Regions from separate parts of the Homo sapiens genome. Here regions 2 and 3 are each linked to region 1. The links are contacts of gene promoters, found by promoter capture Hi-C in blood cells and fetal thymus (Javierre and others, 2016). All regions are on one chromosome and are shown on one strand. The core of a region is centred on a gene start or on the middle of the fragment in contact, and the rest is flanking DNA. Distances in the headings are between cores, read along the strand shown.

Evidence for each region. Contacts are between HindIII fragments. The CHiCAGO score rates a contact against its expected background, and 5 or more counts as called.
Region 2: a fragment that was not itself captured here is called in contact with the fragment with the promoter of TEX47 in region 1 in 2 of 17 cell types (naive CD4 T cells and megakaryocytes); the score reaches 10.5 in naive CD4 T cells.
Region 3: a fragment that was not itself captured here is called in contact with the fragment with the promoter of TEX47 in region 1 in 4 of 17 cell types (naive CD4 T cells, naive CD8 T cells, fetal thymus and 1 more); the score reaches 7.3 in naive CD4 T cells.

What each region holds. Positions count from the first base shown.
Region 1 is chr7:88,793,542-88,797,464 of GRCh38, reverse strand. TEX47 (testis expressed 47) reads left to right here and starts at 1,728. Exons shown (of 2, transcript NM_152706.4): 1 at 1,728-1,825; 2 at 2,419-3,359. The coding sequence starts at 2,523. The coding sequence ends at 3,284. The region is part of intron 1 of ZNF804B (zinc finger protein 804B); the gene reads right to left. The HindIII fragment of the contact is 9,842 bases long and covers 1-3,923 here.
Region 2 is chr7:89,773,784-89,777,706 of GRCh38, reverse strand. No RefSeq gene overlaps it. Among named protein-coding and RNA genes, the nearest start is that of STEAP1, 380 kb to the left of the region's middle. The HindIII fragment of the contact is 390 bases long and covers 1,560-1,949 here.
Region 3 is chr7:89,648,675-89,652,597 of GRCh38, reverse strand. No RefSeq gene overlaps it. Among named protein-coding and RNA genes, the nearest start is that of STEAP1, 500 kb to the left of the region's middle. The HindIII fragment of the contact is 1,109 bases long and covers 1,248-2,356 here.

The DNA.
Region 1 (3,923 bases), core at 479-2,978:
TCCCAGCATTCTATGGAGGGAAAGAAAGCAGGGAGGACTTTGTAAAATGAGAATCTTTTTAACTTTATAAAGTAGATGTATCAAAGGGCTTATGGTTTCACACTCTTAGCTGAATTTGTGGGGTGGAGAAATCTAGAAATACTGTGGGTAGAGACCCTTATTATAATCCAAATAAAGAAGTAGGACTATGAAAGAGGTAGTGTAAATCAAGAACCCTTAAGGCATATTAAAGTGAGTAAAAAGACTTAGTAAAAAGAATAGAGTTGGAGTATATAACTTGGATGAAACATGAACAAATAATACCAAGGATTTTGGCCTGGGAACTGAGAGGAAAAAACATGTTAATTTAGACACAAGTGGGGTATTTGTAAAGGGAAACATGTTTAATAAGGAAAATAATTGTTTAAATGTTTTCATTTTAAATTTGAAAAGACAGAGTTACATCCAAGGAGAGAAGAGTTGTGAATAAGTGACTGGAGATAATAATTTGAGAATTTTCTGTGCAAAAATAATCTAGAATGGGAGCTCAGTTTTTTCTTCTTTCTCAACCCCAATTAACTAGTTGTGTCTACCTTGAGACTCAGATTGAAAAATATTTTTAGTCCACAGGTAAGCTCAGAAGGAAAGCCCCATGATCAATTTCCAATTTCAAACGTGCAATCTAGTGGCAAGAGTGGCTTTAAGGACCACTTACCTGCCCTCACAAAAGAGACATATAGATGGTGCTGAGCTAACTGGGCAAAGAAGTAGAGCGAGAGATCCAACCACATCATGAGCGCAGAGCCTAAGTATTTTCCAGAGTTGGATGTGAGAAGGTATTGCCGGGCAAGGCCTCATACAGAGATTTAGAAAGAAATCCAAGAAAGTGCAGTATCATAGAAACCAGGAGAGGAGAGAAGGCCATAATGAAGGCTCTGGTCAACATGGACACTTTCTTCCAACAAAGCTGTAAGAAGAATGAGAGTGAGATAATAACTAGACTGGGCAATGACATGGTTTGGCACCATGGTTTACATCTTCGGAAAGATTGTATTGCTTCAGGGAGTGATAAAGTGAATCACAATGAGGAAGAATAGTCCATTTTTATGTATTACACAATTAATTAATTATTAAGTCACCTCTCTGCCTTCATTTACTTGGATAATTTATCATTGTATTATCATTAAAATTAGATCATTAGTTTGGATAATACAGAACTCAGGGAAAAAATTATTCTTAGGTTTCATTGTTAAAAATTGAATAAACGTTTTTTAAACTTGTTTTAAAATTACTGTTTAGAACTCATGTGGATGCAATTTTAAGAGATGCATCTCTTAAGACACAATTTTAAGAGGTGCATCTCTTAAAATCACATTAAGTTAAGTAAGCCAAATCTTACTATAGAACTTTCTCATCATATATTCACCATTAGATAGATTCAGATATGTGTTCCTGAAGTCTTTAGTTAGTGTCTAAGTAGAACAGAGGAGTTCTACAACCATACTTTTTATTTATCAAACGGAAAAAAAGAAAGGAAAAAGATGTCCAGATTCTCACCATCTGTCTGACTTACAAATGCACCTGACTAAAAATAAACCATTCAGGAATAAGCCATTCACACTTCCTCTGCAGTGACTTTGAAGTGTTTGTCGAGATACCCGTATTAAGAAACTTGGCGCTCTGGTCCTTTAATGGTGCTGACATTCTGACTCACGTATGCCCGAGGGAAGGCAGAACACAGGACAGCTGAGAACACCAGAGGACTGGCAGTTGGGAGCCTGATGGAGGACAAGTAGGGCCTCGAGGACAGGTGCGTGACAGAAGCACAGGAAAAAAAAGAAAAATGGTAAGTTGACCTGGAAAAAAAAATTGAGGAGATTTGTAAGCAGAGTAAGTTAAAGTAGCAGAATACTTTCATGTAGCCCTTACAACAACAAAAACAACAAGAAAACAAATAAAGGGGGGAGAAATGAATCATTTCTGAGATTCGTCGATAGGAGAAAAAACAAAGAACCAAAACTTTTCCCTTGAAATGTTTACTGTTATTATTCAAGGAACATTATTAACTATTAGTGACATGACTAAAGGTTACATAAGCTAATTAGGACTTAAAAAGCCTTGGATTTTTTTTTAAAAGTTATAGATCAGTTAGATTTGTAAAAGAAACTGGAAGAATTACCATAAAATACCATTTTTAAAAAATTTGGCTTATAAAGGACAATCTGTAATCACCATTACATGACATTTACAAAGTTTTTTCCTAGGATATTATTTAACTCTTTCGTTGTAAACTTTTAAAAAAGTCTATAGTTTGAGTATTGTTTTAACATTGTCTTTCATTTCAAATACATTGTTTCCTGATAAAACTGGCAAAAGATTGGGATTTTACTATTTAGTAACATTTGACAAACCGTGATTTACTCTTTTTTTTTTTGTCAGAAGAAATAAAAACACGAGTTCATCAGTAAAGAGGTACCCTGGCAGCATAAATATTATGATAAGCTAAAAGCTGGAATCATCTGGAAAAATAAATAAGACTCCTCATGTCCTTTTCGGTCCATAACCAGAAGGGCAGCAAAAGGCCTTTGCCACTGGAACCTCTTCTTTTTCTCCAAGTCCCACGTAGCAATTACCTGCACTTTCAAGAAGAGAAACAACGACTACACCTAAAGAAATTCCTTCTTGATAGGATGTTTCTAGTGGCCAAGATACAAGCAAATGTAGAAAGAAAAGATGTTGCTGACTACTATGAACAAATGTTTCAGTCAGTTTTGAAACATCACCTAGGAGAAGCAGTGACAGGATTGCTGCTCATCTATCCCACTTCCATTCTGCATATCCTCGAGTCCTCCAGCGACACTCTCTACAAAGTTCTTTTAGATTATATTGGCCATGTCAAAGATGAAACAGTATTTTTTATTCAACAAATGAAAATTATAGTCATTTCTCATAACATTCCAATGAGGCTTTTTATGCAATGGCATGTTTCAGTGATAAAAGTTCCAGTTATGTATCTCGACGATGTGACACAGTCACAGTCCCTAAAGGAGGTCATCACAGATTTTCTCACACAAACTCATAAACTGTCACTCTACCTTTGCCAGACTATGAAAGTAGGCACTAAAGGACCAGGCGATAACTTACACCAAGTTGCACCTGACCTACTCCTCCCAGAACAAATCATAAAGTACTTGTGCAAATCCGAAGAATTCATGGACCCGGCAACATTTATAAACATGTATAATAGACCCATACACATCACTCTGGATTCTGAGGTGGTATGGCCTGCTCCTTCACGTTTCTAGGATTGAGAGGGATAATGTGCCCATGTCTCTTAAGGAGTTTGTGCTACTTAAATAAAAAAAACATTTTTAAAGTTACTGGTGTCTTTTAAAAGAAACAGAACATTGCAATATACACAGAGGTAATATATTAATCTTTATAGAGTATGTTGAGCTAAACTTTAAAATGTATCTATTTGTTGTGGTATTAAGTTCAATACATTATTTTACTAGGTAGATGGGTTTAATAAGTTTATCATAAGCTCTCAAATATTAACATCATTTTCATGAATTGACACTTTTCAAAAAAAAGTATGGCTGAAAAAAGACAAACGGAATTCAGATTATCATCCAATCCCTCAAGAGTTAATAAACAGTCACTACTACATAGCAGAAGTATAGTGTTCTGAGGGTACAAAATCGAGAAGAAAAATCCCACCCTTGAGTTGCTTGCAACCTCAGGTTAGAGGCAAGTACATGTAGAAGTAGTTACGATATGACATATAATGTAATATAATATATCATTATAGTAGCAGTATATAGGAAGGGCTTTGAGAGCACAAGTAAAGGAATAATCACTGTATAATTCCTGCATTCAGAAAACAAAATCTAATTATTGAAAATATTTCCAAAGCCCACATATTCTGGCCTATATAATCAAGA
Region 2 (3,923 bases), core at 505-3,004, 980 kb before region 1:
TCAATGTCATCAGAAACAAGGAAAAGTAAGAAACAAATTGCTAACAGCCAATAGGAACTTAAGAGGACATGACAGTTAAACATGTATCTTGATGGGACCTTGGAGAAAAAGGTACATTAAATAAAAACTAAAACTAAGGAAATCTTAACAAAGTATGTAATTTTCACTCATTGCAAATGGTACTGCAAAATAGTACAAATTTATGGTAGTAAATTTGCAAATATCTAACAAATCTGCATATGCACATCCTTTGACAAGCAAATCTATCTCTAGTTATTTATGCTGGTGGTCATCTGCACAAATATGCAACAATATATGCAAAGGGTTATTAATTAGCTAGATTTAACTATTCCACAATGTGTATACTCTTCAAAATATCATGTTGCACATAATAAAAACATACCATGTTTTTTGTCAATTGAAAAATATTGATGACAACTTAGACACATCTGTTATGAATTTACATTCAAAATTGAAAGTGAGGCAGCAGTAACAAGAAATGAGGATGCCATTTATATGCCGATGTGGCATAAACTTCAGGATATAGTGATAAGTCAAAACAGCAAGGTATGCAAGATGATATATAAAATGTTACCTTTTTTAATTAAACAGGACAATTGATATATGCATGTTTGCTTGTTTTTGCATAAAGAAGCTCAGGAAGTGATGCGTAGGAATGTCAGAATGTAGAAGATGTAGGGAGAGAATTGAGGGTTCTCTGACTATGCCTGTGTATATAGCTTTACATTATGAATCATGTAAAAAATGATTTACATTAAAAAAATGAGATCAGGCACATTCAGGGTGATCTGGCCATAGACAAAAATAAATTAAAAAATTAAAAAGAATAAAAACACATGAGAAATACACAAAAATAATATTTTCAAAGGGACAATGAAACCAGAGTAAATAATTAATTCAAATAACTATTGAATATAATATTCTTGCTCTATGCTTTTAATGGAATATATTCTGGGACACACAAAACTTCCCAATCACTATAAAGAATATTAGACTTTACTTAGTATGGTTGCTGTTAGTAGTGATATTGGTGTTGTATTTCTAAAAGCATTATTTATGTGTTTTAGGAAAAAGCAAATGTATAAAATAAAGATATTGTTAAACTTTTACTATGGGTAAAGGGAGATGCCAATATGGAGTGGTAAAAGGTGAAAATAATTTTATGTTATTGAAAAAAATATATATATTCATATATATTCCTATATATTGCAGCAATTATAAATAAAATGCAGTACTTCTATATATATAAAAATTCACCTATGTGTTGAATAATACATCCATAATATACATCTATAGTTCAACTGTGTATTTGTGGGTATGTATTTGTGGTTTCCTAGATCTGTCCCTGAAAGTGTATAGAAGCAATGACACCCTAGTGGCAATGAGCAGCTAGCAGTATAACATAGTGATACATCTAGATTTCTAAATATAATATCCTACCAAAAGGAATTTTGACTCCTTGGAAAAATAGCTGTTTTCACATCTGCACAAAGGAAAGTACAAATTGAGCCTGAAACATCTTCTTGTAACAGAAAGCTTGAAGAAATACACAAGGATGGGGTAAGGCTAAAAGGATACAGGAGCCAGCTTGAAGCAGTCTAAATTTTGCAAAATTATGATGGTAATGAATTATAACACATGGAATAAAGTTTTAAAAACATGACTCCATATTGATATTAAAGAAAAACAATAAATGAAAACAGGAGAGACAGAGAGAAAGGAAGACAGAGAAAGGTGAAAAACTCTTCTTTACAGAAGAATACCAGCTGATTAAAATAGAAAAGATGATTCAATTAGAAAATCACCATTTTGTAACTCCCAATTTGATTCAAACATAGATAATCAATTTGTTCACCTCACAAAATACTCCTTGATTACAAAGGGTAATTTTTCCTTTATGATGGAAACCTTAAACAAGTAATCAAGCTTTTTATTGCCAGTAGGAACATAGCTTGAAATGAGGGTTCTGATGTGATTCAATGATACACAATGTCACCAATATATCATTCTTGCTAGAAAACTTTGACCTGAATTTCAACACAAGATGAATCACTAATGTGAGCTTTCTGCAGGACAACTGACCTGAACTCTTGAAAGGATTCAGTGGCATAAAGAACAAAGGGAGTACAGAGAATTGTTCTAAATTTAAGGAGACAAATGAAAAATAAAAGTTAAATCCAAAGTATTTTGTAATATTGATTGGATTTCAGATGGAAAAAAATAAAGTATAAAGAACATTTTTGAAACAATACAGGCATTTTATTATAGATTTTTTCCTTGGATTATATTGCACTGAGGTTGATTTTCTTAGGTGTGATAATGGTTTTCTGGTCACATAGAAAATGTCATTGCTTTTCAGAGTTTATGCTTAAGTATTTGGGGCTTAAAAAGTCATGATGCCCATAGTCCACTTAAGGATGATTTGAAAAAATGAAAAGAACTCTCTCTTTCTCTCTCATGTTCTCTCTCTCTCTCTCTTTCTGTGTGAGTATACACACATATGAATATGCTTCATGTGTATTATATATGTGTATATATAAAACACATATAAATATATATGTAATACATGTATACACATATATACCTATCGACACAAACGTGTGGGTATACACACAAACACACAGAGATAGAATGTGGGGGTGTGGTGTGATGTTAACAACTGGTCTAAAGTATATAGGAGTTCATTATTTTGTTCTTTGAACTTGTGAGTTTGAAATCTTTCAAAATAAAACAGCAAGTAAAACAACAACAACAAAAATTCCCTAATCAATTTCCACATTCTTCTTTTCTGTGTTATCGAAGTTTCTATAGCAAGATCATAACCCTGTCTTTGGTCATTTAAAAACTTATGTTCATGAAACTCTTGCCCTGTTAACAATATTGACTTCTACTGAATTTTACATTATGTCCTTGAAAGGTGATAAGTAATTTCCAGATGAAAGTCGTTAAATGGATTCTCATTGCAATATTTAAAGGCTGAAAAGTGATATGAGATCAATAAAGTATGGCTTGTCATTCTCTACTTTTCTTCCATTCTGAATGTTACCTGAGGATACTGAAGAATTTGTATGATTAGTTATGGTGATAGAATCAGAGTCTAAAGTTGATATGGCTGATATGTCTTCATTACGTCTTCTAATATCCACTGGGGTGCTTTTTCAAATACTCTAAGTAACACCCTGGGATATTTTAAGTTTTAATATAATTCTCCTGTGGGAAAAATACAAATTTTCTTAAAACTCTACAATACTATTGTTTTCAAGTTGAGAATTATTACAGATAATACATTTCCTTATCTCCTCAATTGTATAAAATCACTTCTAATAAATTAAGAAAATTTAATTTCTTAAAATAAAATCATTAAGCAAGAGTTTCTGCATTACATAAAAATATACATGTGCAAACTATTAGATAAAGTGTGTGTGTTTTTTTTTTAAAAAAAGAAATGCAATTCATAACAGCCAAGGTAATCAGAGATAGCTGATCTTAGCTAGTCTTGAGATTTTAATTATAACCAATTACATAGAAAAGAATAAAATCCTAAATATTTCATTTATTAAAATCTGAAATGAATTATTTTTGCTGGTACGTTTCCAGATTCATATCCTTAATATTTCTTAATGTCATTATTACACTGCTCACTGAGAGGTAGAACTGTAGCATTTGAAAATAATTTGACTGACAAAAAACATCAACTGAATATTGGCATTGTTTACTTTATATCTTTGGGGACTTGCTGCCAGCATCCAGCATGGAAAGGTAGTTGGCCTTTCAGAGAATCCTCTAAGGAGCTTGCTCCCAGGCAAGAGAGAGACAAGCCTATTCTCTGAAAGATGTCCGATGAGTCTAATGACTCATGATGAAAATGTCTTTGAAACTTATGTCACCACTGGATTTTTAGT
Region 3 (3,923 bases), core at 553-3,052, 860 kb before region 1:
AAATATTTTGATGATAACTCTCAAGTTGGAAAACACTGTTTTGGATAAGACCTGCATTCAAAATGTTTTATTTATTTGTTTATTGTTATTTAAAATGTGCACCTTTTGTTTTTAGCATCCAGTATTTGTATTAGTTAATTGTATAATGATAAAAATAGAGCTCTGAGGAGTGCCATAAGCAGAACTCATAGAATACTTCTAGGGTTCTATGTAGTTCATAAAATAGGCTGGAAACATTAGGATAGAGGAAATATTAGGATTTCTGACCCCCCTGTTTGACCACCATATGACGTTTTATGCAGGGTGAAAATTGAAACATATGGAACAAATACACATACAAAAATATTAGAGGACTATTAAAGGAGTTTTATAAAAAAAGGCGTATGGGAGTCCAAATCTGGTAGAAGGGCCAGAAGAGACGTCACAGAGTAAATTATATTTGAGCTGAGTCTAGAAAGATGAACAGAAATATACTTCTTAGGCAAAAAAAATGGAGAAATATATTTCAGGCTGAATAAGCCAAATACAGGAGTATGAAAGATCATAGTAGATCTAGTTCATCACAGTAGGTTCAACTATGATGAACTGTTAAAAGTAGAGTTTAAGCCTGGAGCAGTGGCTCATGCCTTTAATCTCAGCACTTTGGGAGGCCGAGGAAGCTGGATCACTTGAGGTCAGGAGTTCGAGACCAGCCTGGCCAACATCGTGAAACCTCCTCTCTACTAAAAATACAAAAATTAGCCAGGTGTGGTGGTGCACGACTGTAGTCCCAGCTACTTGGGAGGCTGAGGCAGGAGAATTGCTTGAGCCCAGGAGATGGAAGTTGCAGTGAGCCAAGATTGTGCCACTGCACTCCAGCCTGGGTGACAGAGTGAGACTCGGTCTCGAAAATATAAAATAAAATTAAAATAAAAATAAAAAAATACAAAAATAGAGTTTAGTGAGCATTTGTTGTATTCTGAGAGATGACTTTGAAAAGATAGAAACCATGTTATCAAGGAGTTTTCTCTTTATGTTGGGTGGCATGGAAGAATTTTATACCAAAAATTGTATGGTACATTTTCAGTTTAGAAAATATAGCCTGGAATTTGAATACACAGAATGAGATGATATCCTGAAACCATAAATATTTTAAAAGTCTCTTTATTTCCCACTAAAAGTATGAATGCATTTACTAAGGGTGAAGCCGTTCTATAACACCAATAAATAGAGAGGTATTCCATTCATTTACATGACACTTCCAAGCTTATTGTCAATAAATGTTACAGATGAGAGAATACATACTATGAAAGGGAGCCCCAGCAGAATGGGTAAACAAATTCCTCAATTTTTCCCATCTCAATTTCTCTAGAATCCCTATAACATCTCCTAATTCAGAGTGAACTGTGAATAAAAGGATGGACTTTGGAGCAGTGGCAGGGGTTTGCGGAGATGAATGGCAGGGTTTTAGCTAAGTTCTAGAACCTTCAAAGTAAAGAATCCCATAGAGGTCATATAGACTTTGCACAGAGGTATCCAGGAGACTGTGAAAATTGCTGAAAATAACTAAGACACATTGCAACATTGGCTTTTGACTCACAAAAATAAATTTCTCTGAAATTGCACCTGTATTTCTTTGCCTAAACCCCTATCTATCTACTATGGCATTCACACTAGATCTTGAAATCTCAAAACATCAAAAGAAAATAAGTTTGAATCTTTTTATATTTATATTTTGTTTTTACTGTTTGTGTTGCTTTCATATTTTATTCTCTATTTTTTTGAGACTGACAAAATTGACATGTGAAAACAACTACTGACAGACCCAGAGATTACCACTATTAAATGAGTTACAATGGATAGGAATTTACCCTGAAACTCAATAGTGTGGTCATTAGAGGACTCAAATCAAATAACTTTAAACAAGAAGGCTTACAAATATTCTATTAAATAATGAGAGTAGTATTTAAATAATGTAAAATAAGATCAGAATGTTCCAAATACTAAGAAAACCAGATTTTGGGGAAATGAAAACAATGATTACTAAATTTAAAAATACATATCATATAAAATCTAGTCTATAGTGATAGTAGATTAACTATTGTATTAAATTTGATTATTTAGAAGATAACTTTGAAATCAAAACAGCATGGTGTTGGCATAAAACAGAAGTAGAGGCCAATGGACTAGAATAGAAGGCCCAAAAAGTAATTCATTCATTCATAGTCAGTTGATTTCTGACAAAGATGCTGCAAACACACAATGGGGAAAGGACAGTCTCTTCAATAAATGGTGCTGGGAAAACTGTACGTGAAAAGAATAAAATTAGACTTCCATCTCATAACTATATACAAAAATAAACTCAAAATGTAAAGCTTAGATATTAAGACCTGAACCTGTGAGACTACTGTAAGAAAACATAGAGGAAAAGCTCCATGACATTGGTTTGGGCAATAATTTTTTGGATTTAAACCCAAAAGCACAGGCAACAAAAGCAAAGATAGACAAATGGGATTACATCAATATAAAAAGCTTCTGCACAGCAAAGGAAACAACAGAATAAAGAGACAATCTATGTACAGGAGAATAAATTTGCAAACCACACATCTAATAATGGGTTAAGTCTAAAATATACAAGGAACTCAAACAACTCAATCGTAAGAAAACAACTCAATTAAAAATGGGCAAAGGACTTGAGTGGACATTTCTCTAAAGAAGATATACAAATGGACAACAGGTATATGAAAAAATGCTTATAATCATTAATCATCAGAGAAATGCAAATTAAAATCACAATGAGATATTACCTCATACCAGTCAGGATAGCTATTACCAAAAAGAGAAAATGTAAATGTTGGAAAGGATATGAGGAAAAGGAAACTCTTATACTATTGGTGGAAATGTAAATCAGCACAGCTCTTATGAAAAACAATTTGGAGGTTCCTCAAAAAATTAAAAATAAAGGACTGTATGGTCCAGTAATCCAACTACTGAGTATATATCTAAAGGATATGACAAGAGTATGTTAAAGAGGTAACTGCACTCCCTTGTTTGTTGCAGCATTTTTCACAATAGCCATGCTATGGAATTAACCTGGGTGTCCATTGACAGACAAATGGAAAAAGGAAATGTGATGTATATCCACAACAGAATACTATTCAGCCTTTTAAAAACAGGAAAGGAAATCCTGCCAGTTACAAGAACATTGATGAATCTGAAGAACATTATATTACGTGAAATAACCCCAACACAGAAAGACAGCTTCGTCTTAGTTATGTGTGGAATCTAAAACAATCTAATTAATAGAAACAAAGAGCAAAATGGTGGTTACCAGATGCTGGGGAATGGGAGGATCAGGGAGATGTCAGTCAAAGAACACAAAATTTCAGTTAGATGGAAGGAATAAAATCAAGAGATCTATTGTACCTCACAGTGCCTATAGTTAATGACAATAAGTTAAAAATTCCTAAGAGAATAGATTTAGAGGGTTTCCCTGACCAAAAAAATGATATATATGTGAGTTAATGAATATGTTAAATAGCTTGATTTAGCCATTCCACAGTGTATACATATATCATGACATGATGTTGTATACTTTAAATATATTTGATTTTTATTTGTCAATTTAAAAATAAATTTTAAAAGATGACCTTGAAATATGTTCATGGAATTTAGAATTATAAAGGGTTTGGGATTATAAAAGAAGACTATAAAATTGATTTATGTAAACCCAGAATTGACTTATTTCCAGAAGCAATATTTTTACGTATTAACAATGCTGAAAGTGACATGTGCCTAACAATCGATACCATATGATAATTACTACTGCTTTATTCGTTTTACATTTGAATATCTCTTAAATTGAGTTGAATCTCACAGTTGATGACATCATAGATTTTTCTGAAAATGAGAAAGAAGTTTTGGAAGTGTCAGCAATATTCAAA